Regions from separate parts of the Homo sapiens genome. Here region 1 is linked to region 2. The links are contacts of gene promoters, found by promoter capture Hi-C in human tissues and cell types (Jung and others, 2019). All regions are on one chromosome and are shown on one strand. Each heading gives the region's core, a stretch centred on a gene start or on the middle of the fragment in contact. The rest is flanking DNA. Distances are from core to core; before and after follow the strand shown.

Region 1 (4,093 bases), core at 738-3,237, 140 kb after region 2:
ATTTTTGTTTTTTTGTATTTTAGTAGAGATGGGGTTTCACCGTGTTGCCCAGGCTGGTCTTGAACTCCTGAACTCAGGCAATCCGCCTGCCTTGGCCCCGCAAAGTGCTAGGATTACAAGCGTGAGCCACCACGCCCATGCCCAGCCTTTTTTTTTTTTTTTTTTTTTTTAAATCAGAGTCTCGATGTCTCCCAGGCTGGAGAGTGCAGTGGTGCAATCTCAGCTCACTACCATCTCTGCCTCCCAGGTTCAAGCAGTTCATCTGCCTGAGCCTCCCCAGTAGCTGGGATTACAGGCATGCACCACCATGTGTGGCTAATTTTGTATTTTGAGTAGAGATGGAGTTTCACCATGTTGGCCAGGCTGGCCTTGATCTCCTGACCTCAGGTGATCTGCCCACTTCGGCCTCCCAAAGTGCTGGGATTATAGGCGTGAGCCACAGCGCCCGGCCCCTAGTCAGAATTTTTGATGGAAAAGAAATGGCAGGGAGAGGGCCAACAGGAGGGACTTAAGTTGAATATTCAAAACTATTTCACAGGAGGACTTAGACTTCTGGAATACCAAACCTGAAAATTGTACTCAACCCCTTTATTTCCTACAGCTCAGAGAGGGTCAGGGAGGCATCCGAGGCCACACAGCCCATTGGTGGGACAACCCGAAAACACCTTGCCTTTCCTGCCCCACCCTGGGGCTTGGTTCCCCACTCAACACTGCCTCTTCTCCTTCCCCTTCCCCTCACTTCCTCCAGTCCACTGCCCAGCCCCTTCCTCACCGAGGCCTCCTGCACTGGGGGACTGCCACTCACCTTGGCCCCACGCCCTACACCCCCATATCGAGTCAGGGCAATGGTGCCTTCAAGTTTGATGCCCTGAGTCTGTAGCTCCTTAAAGTCTTCTTCCGCGCCCCGGTTGGCATAGACGAGGAGGCCCTAGTCCCAAGAGGGGGTGATCCTTAGAGCTGGGCCCAGCGAAGTGTGGGTGGGGAAGGGGGGTGGAAGTTTGCATGGCAGGAGGGAGAATTTAGATTCTGTTCCCCCACCTCACCCAGAGCTTGTAAGCTCCCCAAGAACAGTCACCCCTCATTTCCTCCATGTCTGGGTGCCCTGTAACAGACCTGGCCTTGAGCAGAGCCACTAGTGTTTGTTGAATGACTGATGGAGGAAAGGAGCAGCGATGGAGTGTCCCGGTGAGTAAATTCCGGAGGGCGCGCTGTGCCCCAGTTGAGGCACGTTCCCTGGGTCAGGGTGGGGAGAACCCTGGGTGGAACCAAGGGAGCTGGGCCAGAGCAGTAGGGGGGGTTCTGGGCCCACCTGTGGGGTTCCAGAAGGAGCATAGGCAGCATAGGGTTGTACCACATCTGGCCCCCCTTGCTCCCCGGTCACGTTCTCCTCAGTCCGGTGGCAGGAGTGGATGATGCCCCCAGTGGGGCCCACTGTTGGAGGGGTGGCAGTATCATGGCTGGGCCCAGCAGCTCCCCACCCCCGGGCATTCCCAAGACTGGGCAGGACCTCACCGATGTCCACGACGTTGGGCTGCTCCTGGCTAGGGAAGGACAGCAGCACTTCGTACGTGGAGGCCTCGGCCGAGTCCAGGCCTGACTCTGGGTCCTTCCAGCGCTGCAGCAGCAGCTGCACCAGGTCCTCATCCCGAGGGCTGGAGGCCAGGTGTGGCTCCCTGGAGAGTTCTCTGCAGGGTGGGCAGAGGGAGGGGCAGGGCCAGCATCAGGGAGGGGGCCTCTGGCAAACGGAGGAGCAGATGGCCCCACTTCTCACCTGAGGTTCTCCCGGATCCTGTGGGCATCCAGCTGCCCCATGACGGTCTCCAGGATCTCCAGGTCCAGGTCCTGGGGGGCCAGTGAGTTGGCTTTTTTGGGGATGGCAAAGTGGCCGAGGATGATCCCCAGCCCCAAGAGGGCAGCAGCCCCCAGCCCCAGCCCCAACACCTTCGTCCACTGCATCCTGCGGACTCTTGGCCAGCTGGGGTAGGACTGGTCTATAGGTTATTCCCTATAGAGGGGGTGTTGTGCCTGGTTAAACATTACCCCATGGGTGGCACTGCCCTTTGACCCCCAGCTGGCAGGGAGAGTGAGGGAACATCCCGCAGTGAGAGCCAGGAGCCATCCACATCCACCACATCCTGCACCATTTGCCTGGAATGGCTCTCCAAGGGCAGCAAGGTCACCCAGGGACACTGAAGCCGAGAGGGAAGGGGCTCATCCAGGGTGTCCCAGGAAAACAGAGGCCAAGCCAGGGCTGGAACTCAGAGCTCCTGTGTTCACAGCAGGGCCGTGCCCACTGCCCACCCTCACTGCCTCTGCCTCCCTCCAAGGCAGCCGATCTACAGCATACCCAGCCCTACCTGCCTGAGCAGATTTTGAGTTGAGATCCCCCTTCTTGCTGGACGTAAGCTGTGTGACCTTGGGCAATCCACTCAGCTTCTCTACACCTGTTTTCTTTTTTTTTTTTCTAGACTGTGTCTTCCACTGACACCCAGGCTGGAGTCCAGTGGTGTGATCTCGGCTCACTGCAACCTCCACCTCCCGGGCTCAAGTGATTCTCCTGCATCGGCCTCCCGAGTAGCTGGGATTACGGGTGTGCACCACCATGTCCAGCTAATTTTTGTATTTTTAGTAGAGATGGGGTTTCACCATGTTGGCCAGGCTGGTCTCAAACTCCTGATCTCAGGTGATCACCCGCCTCAGCCTCCCAAAGTGCTGGGATGACAGGAGTGAGCCACCGTGCCGGCTATGGTGTCATTTTCATTAAACAATATGGCATCTGTAGAAATAGCTAGTGCAGTGTCTGACATGTAGTGGGAGCTCATCAATTTTAACTACTCATCCCTCATCTGACTCTGGAAAATGTAAGGCCTAGAGCTAAAGGAAGAAGGAGGACCCAGAAGAACTCTCTGTGTCTATCCTGAAGGGAGCCCAGCGATACGAGGAATGGGAGTCCTGGGAAGGGAGGCTGTCCCAGAGGAGGCAGCAGGGGAAGCCCATGCCTCCCTGGCGAGGTGACTTCCTCTTCTATCCCCTGGCTCTGCCTGGACTCCGTCATCCACCCTCCTATTTATCCATCCACCCATCCCTCCATTCACTTATTCATTCCTTCCTTTATACATGCAAGCACTGTTCATTCTGTGCTATACTAGAGCCATGCAAGGCTGTGGGGAAGCAAAATCCAGCAGGCGAGGCAGACAGGCTTTAGGTTCAGCCATGTGGTAAGTGCCCTGTAGAGGGAGGATCACCATGCTCCCAGTGAAAGAGTGAGGAGTTCTGACTAGGAGGGAACATCTGAGGGGGTCCTCCAAGGCTGAAAAGGTGTTCCAGCATTTGCAAGGGCTGAGAGGGAAGTGAGACCCCAAGTATGCCATACACATACTGAGCCTCTTCCAGACCTCACGGAGAGCCAGGAGGGGCTGGGGGGGTCCCTAGGGACTTGAGCTGGGACTTCTCCCACCCTCCCATGGCCTATCCTGCCTTGACTCTGCCTCGCAGGTTGCAGCCCATGGATGGGCTCAAAGATGCCTGCAGAGCTTGGGGGCTGGATCAGGGCAGAGCGTGTGTGTGTGTGTGTGTGTGTGTGCACGTGCATGTGTGTGTGTGTGATTTCACAGACCCCTCTCAGAGCAGCCTCCTTCCTGCTCACAACCCCATTTTGCTGGCACCACCATCTCTTGTGCTGCTGGTGAGGAGGTTCAGCATGGGAGGACTAGGGGTGGCTGGGAAGGGATGTCATGTGATCAGTGACTTCAGGGAGGTGCACCAGGAAGCCACAGTTCTTGGCAACGTGATTATCGACGCCCAGAATATGACCTTGGATCTTATCAGAAGCCCATCGGTGCAGGGAGCATACACCTTCCTTATGAGGACACAGGACAGTCACCACCAGGTGGGGAGTGGGATGCCAAGGTCAGCTGATAAGTTGAGGGACTGAGGCAGCAACCCCATGGTCCTACCCCACCCACTCCTGGAAGGATTTAACCCCTCAATCATGTGAAGTCACAAACAGGACGCCTGGACAAAAGTGTGTGACATCTGAGTGATAACACCTGGGACTGTGGTTTGTGTTGGAGAGTGTGTAAACAGCTGTGTG
Region 2 (4,186 bases), core at 532-3,031:
ATCTAGTCACCCAGTATACAACAGGGACTGAGACTGGGATGCGGGCCTCTTTCTTTTCATGCCACTTCAGAGGCCCCAGATACTCAGTTTCTTTGGGGGCCTTCAAGGCGGGGCCTGCAGGCTGAGCTGGGAGGGAGGAGGGGCTGGTTATCAAGAAAGCGCCTGCATTCCACCAGGGCCCTAGAGAAGCCAATTCAATCCCCAACAAGAGGGCAGGGAACAGGAGTAGGGGCGTTTTCTGGAGCTGAAAGTAAAAAGGGGAAGCCTAGGGCTGGGTATGGTGGTTCATGCCTATAATCTCAGCACTTTGGGAGGCTGAGGTGGGAGGATCCCTTCAGGGGTTCAAGGCTAGCCTGGGCAACATAGCGAAATCCTGTCTCTATAAAAATAAAAAAGGGGCAGCCTAGAGACGGCCTTAGAGGCTGAGGCTAAGGTTAGAGGTCAGAGAGGGCTTCCTACACCAGAATTCACAGACAGCAGGCCACTGGGGGGTGCCCCCAGTTCAGGGCCCACGATTATCCTACCCCACATTTGCTCACCAGGGCCTGGCCTACCCCCAAAGCCTAGCTCTTCTGCCCAGATTAGCAGCCCCCTGAGTCCAGCCACAAAACTGAGAAGTCCCTGCCTCCATGCCCACCCCTGCTGCTCTGGACCTGGTGGATCGACCAGGACGCGCCTCTAATTGGTGGCTCCTTCAAAGCTCCCCAGGTCAGCTGAGCTGTGAGTCAGGGCTCCTCACCGTTCCCAGCCTCAAGCCTCTGACCTTACACCTCTTGGCCTCCCTAGCATCTCCCTTGGCCTCCTCCCGGCTTGAAGCCAGATCTCCCCACCTTTCCTCCAGGGCCTCCCTCCAGGCAGGGACACTGAGCCGGGGGGGTCGGTGGGAGATGTAGGTGGGGGCCATCCAGTCCCTCCCTAGACACCCACTTGGCCCATCCCACTCTCCCAAAAGCAGGAAGTAGGCAGCGACCCAGGCACACGAGGTGTTGATCAACACTGGTACTGACGTACTGACGCGGTTGTTGACATACACATCCGGTGGTTTGTTGATCCCACCTACGGGCTCAGGACCGTGGGGTCAAGAGGTCAGGGCACATGATCCACAGGTGTCCTCGCCAGGGCTCCGGACCCCTACCAGCTTCCCCCACCAGCTGCGCAGGCCCAAGTCTGTCACTGCCCTGGCCCAGCTCAGTTCCTACGCTCCCTCCCCAGCCCCTCCTCAGCCCGAGAGCCAACCTCCTTAACTCAGCCCCCAAACTCGACGAGTTTGTCTTGCATTCTCCAGACAGGTGATCTTGCCCTCTCCAGCCTCAGTTTCTCCTCCCGTGGAGACAGAAACCCCTTCCCGCTCAGTTTCTGGCTCTGGTAAGGAACTGAAGAGGCCAGCCGGGGTGCCTCTGACGCCTGGAGAGGGCAAGATTCCCCTGGCCTCTCTACGCCCGGTGCCTGATCCCCCAGCCCGATCCTGCCGCAGGGAGCCTCAGGTCGCTGCGCTCCCACCCTCCGCACCTTCCTGGACTCGGGCCTGGCTCCTCACCCAGATTTCCAGGTGGATGTCTCGCAGGGCAACGCTGCCCTTGTACAGATCGAGGCTGAGCTGGTCCAGGCTGAGGTGCTCTTGGAAGAAGTGACCTAAGTAGTGGTGCAGCAAGTAGCGGCAGACCCGCTCTTTCACACAGTTTGACCATGGCCACAGCCATCGTGACATCTCGGAGACCGCCGGGCCTGGGCCGCCTCCGCTTGCCGCCCGCCGGCGATCCCCGTCCGGCTCCGCTGTTCACTAGAGCCCCCGGCTCGCCCCGCCGCTTCTCTAGGCGCCAGGCCGCGCCTCCGGACGCCCAGCCACGCCCCCTACGCTCACTGTCATTGGCTATTGCAAAGGGCGAGGCCTACTGATTGGCTGCGCGGGGCGGAGCCTTCGGGCGCGAAAAAGGGACTGGGCTCTCTGCATGATATAGGGCTCTCAATCATGATTTACGCTTGCGTAAAGTACTGTGTGGGAGGACCTTTAACCTCCCCTCTACAGGCTCTGGGAAGGCTGTTGCTCCAGGTGCCGGCCCCTCAAAGGAATGCGCATGTGCTGATTCGTCCAACCACTTTAAGTGGTTGGGGAGGATTTAAAGGGACAGTGTCCCATCAAACTTCGTAGAAGCCTTCCCCAGAGGAGTAAACTCAGTGCGCGATCTTAAGCGCGCATCTGTGGAAACAATTAAGTGAGTAAACATTCGCATTTTGCAAAATCTTTTACCATCCTTTATCTCATTGAGCCCTCTTAATAATCGCTCAAGGTAGGGATTATTGCCACCGCTTTACAGGTAAGAAAACAGATTAAGATACGAGAAAGACCCTGCCTCAAAAACAAACAAAAATAAATAAGGGCTCTGAATCCATCACCAAGGAAGGTCTTTTTTCCCCTCCTCACCCCGGAATGCTCAGAGGGAGATTAACTGACCCTCCCTTCTCTCTGCCGTCGGTCAGGCCTTAGGCACCTCTCTGAAATAATAATAGCTTTTCATATCTCTAGTCCTAAAATCAAAGAATGGATTCTGCCTCCTTTAAGCAGGGGGGCATTGTTTTTGTACGGCCTTTGAGCTAAGTATGGTTTTTATGTCTTTTAAATGGTTAGGGGAAAAATCAAAAGAAGAATGAACTTTTCATGGCATGTGAAAAATCATATGAAATTCACATTCCAGTGTTTATACATAACGTTTTAGTGTCACACAGTCTTGCTCATTTGCTTAAGTTCTGCCCCGGGCTGCTTTCTTGCTACAAGAGCAGAATTCAGTACTTGAGACAGAGGCCTGCAAAGCCTAAAATATTTATTTTCTGGCCCTTCACAGAAAAAGTTTGCCAACCGCTGCTCTGTAGGGGGCAGCCACACAAAACCTCTTACATCATGGGCGACTTCAGGAACAGCCATAGGTAATTATGTTTCTTTTCTTTTCTTTTTGAGACAGACTCTCTCTGTCACCTAGGCTGGAGTGCAGTGGCACAATCTTGGCTCACTGCAACCTCTGCCTCCTGGGTTCAAATGATTCTGCTGCCTTGGCCTCCCAGAGTAGCTGGGATTACAGGCATGCACCACCGCACCCAGCTAATTACCGTGTTGGGCAGGCTGGTCTCGAACTCCTGACCTTAGGTGATCAGCCTGCCTTGGCCTCCCAAAGTGTTGGGATTACAGGCACGAGCCACCGTGCCCGGCCTATGTTTCTATTTTATTTATTTTTTTTGAGACAGAGTCTTGCTCTGTTGCCCAGGCTGGAGTGCAGTGGTGCAGTCTCCTCTCACGCAACCTCTGGCTCCTGGGTTCAAGGAATTCCTGAGTAGCTGGGATTACAGGTGTGAGCTACCCCACCTAGCCTGTGTTTCTATTTTAATCTTACTTGGGAGCTGGACTCTTACATTCTAATGCCAAAACTCAGCCTGAAGCAAGGGCAACCGCCCTGGCCCACCGGGCAGGGACCTGTATTCCAGTCCCACCCATGGGTGGTTTCTTCTCCTCTTGTGACCCTCAGTTTTATCCTATGTAACTGGGGTTGGGTTAGTAAGTGGAGATAGTTCATTACCTGGAAGGAGCAGGCTCCATTCAGGGAGGCAGGCTGATAGGACAGCCATTCAGAAAGTGCTTATGGGCCAGGCACGGTGGCTCATGCCTGTAATCCCAGCACTTTGGGAGGCCAAGGCGGGTGGATCATGAGGTCAGGAAATCGAGACCACCCTGGCTAACACAGTGAAACCCCATCTCTACTAAAAAATATTTAAAAAATTAGCAGAGTGTGATGGCGGGCGCCTGTAGTCCCAGCTACTCGGGAGGCTGAGGCAGGAGAATGGTGTGAACCTGGGAGGCGGAGCTTGTGGTGAGCCAAGTTTGTGCCACTGCACTCCAGCCTGGCTGACAGAGCGAGATTCTGTCTCAAAAAAAAAAAAAGAAGAAACTGCTTGTGGAAGGAATCTAGAGCTCTGCCTTCTTCCATGGCAGGCTGGGGGCAGTACTGTGCTCACCAACTGATTATTACATTAATAATAATATACCGGGTTGGGTTGCTCACTCCTGTAATCCCAGCACTTTGGGAGGCTGAGGCAGAAGGATCGCTTGAGCCCAGGAGTTTGAGACCAGCCTGGGCAACATAGCTGAATCCCTGTGTCTACAAAAAAAAAAAAATGTTTCAAAAAATTAGCCGGGCGT

What was found. Contacts are between HindIII fragments. The study calls those that stand out against the background at their distance.
Region 1: the fragment with the promoter of NAALADL1 here is called in contact with the fragment with the promoter of ATG2A in region 2 in 2 of the 25 tissues and cell types used here (aorta and mesendoderm cells).

Annotation. Positions count from the first base shown.
Region 1 is chr11:65,056,566-65,060,658 of GRCh38, forward strand. It overlaps NAALADL1 (N-acetylated alpha-linked acidic dipeptidase like 1), which reads right to left and starts at 1,988. Exons shown (of 18, transcript NM_005468.3): 1 at 1,772-1,988; 2 at 1,513-1,685; 3 at 1,310-1,431; 4 at 806-928. The coding sequence starts at 1,956. The HindIII fragment of the contact is 22,908 bases long and covers 1-4,093 here.
Region 2 is chr11:64,915,428-64,919,613 of GRCh38, forward strand. ATG2A (autophagy related 2A) reads right to left here and starts at 1,782. Exons shown (of 41, transcript NM_015104.3): 1 at 1,538-1,782. The coding sequence starts at 1,708. It also overlaps a transcript of PPP2R5B not described here. RefSeq lists a silencer at 1,694-2,003 and an enhancer at 2,054-2,183. The HindIII fragment of the contact is 28,686 bases long and covers 1-4,186 here.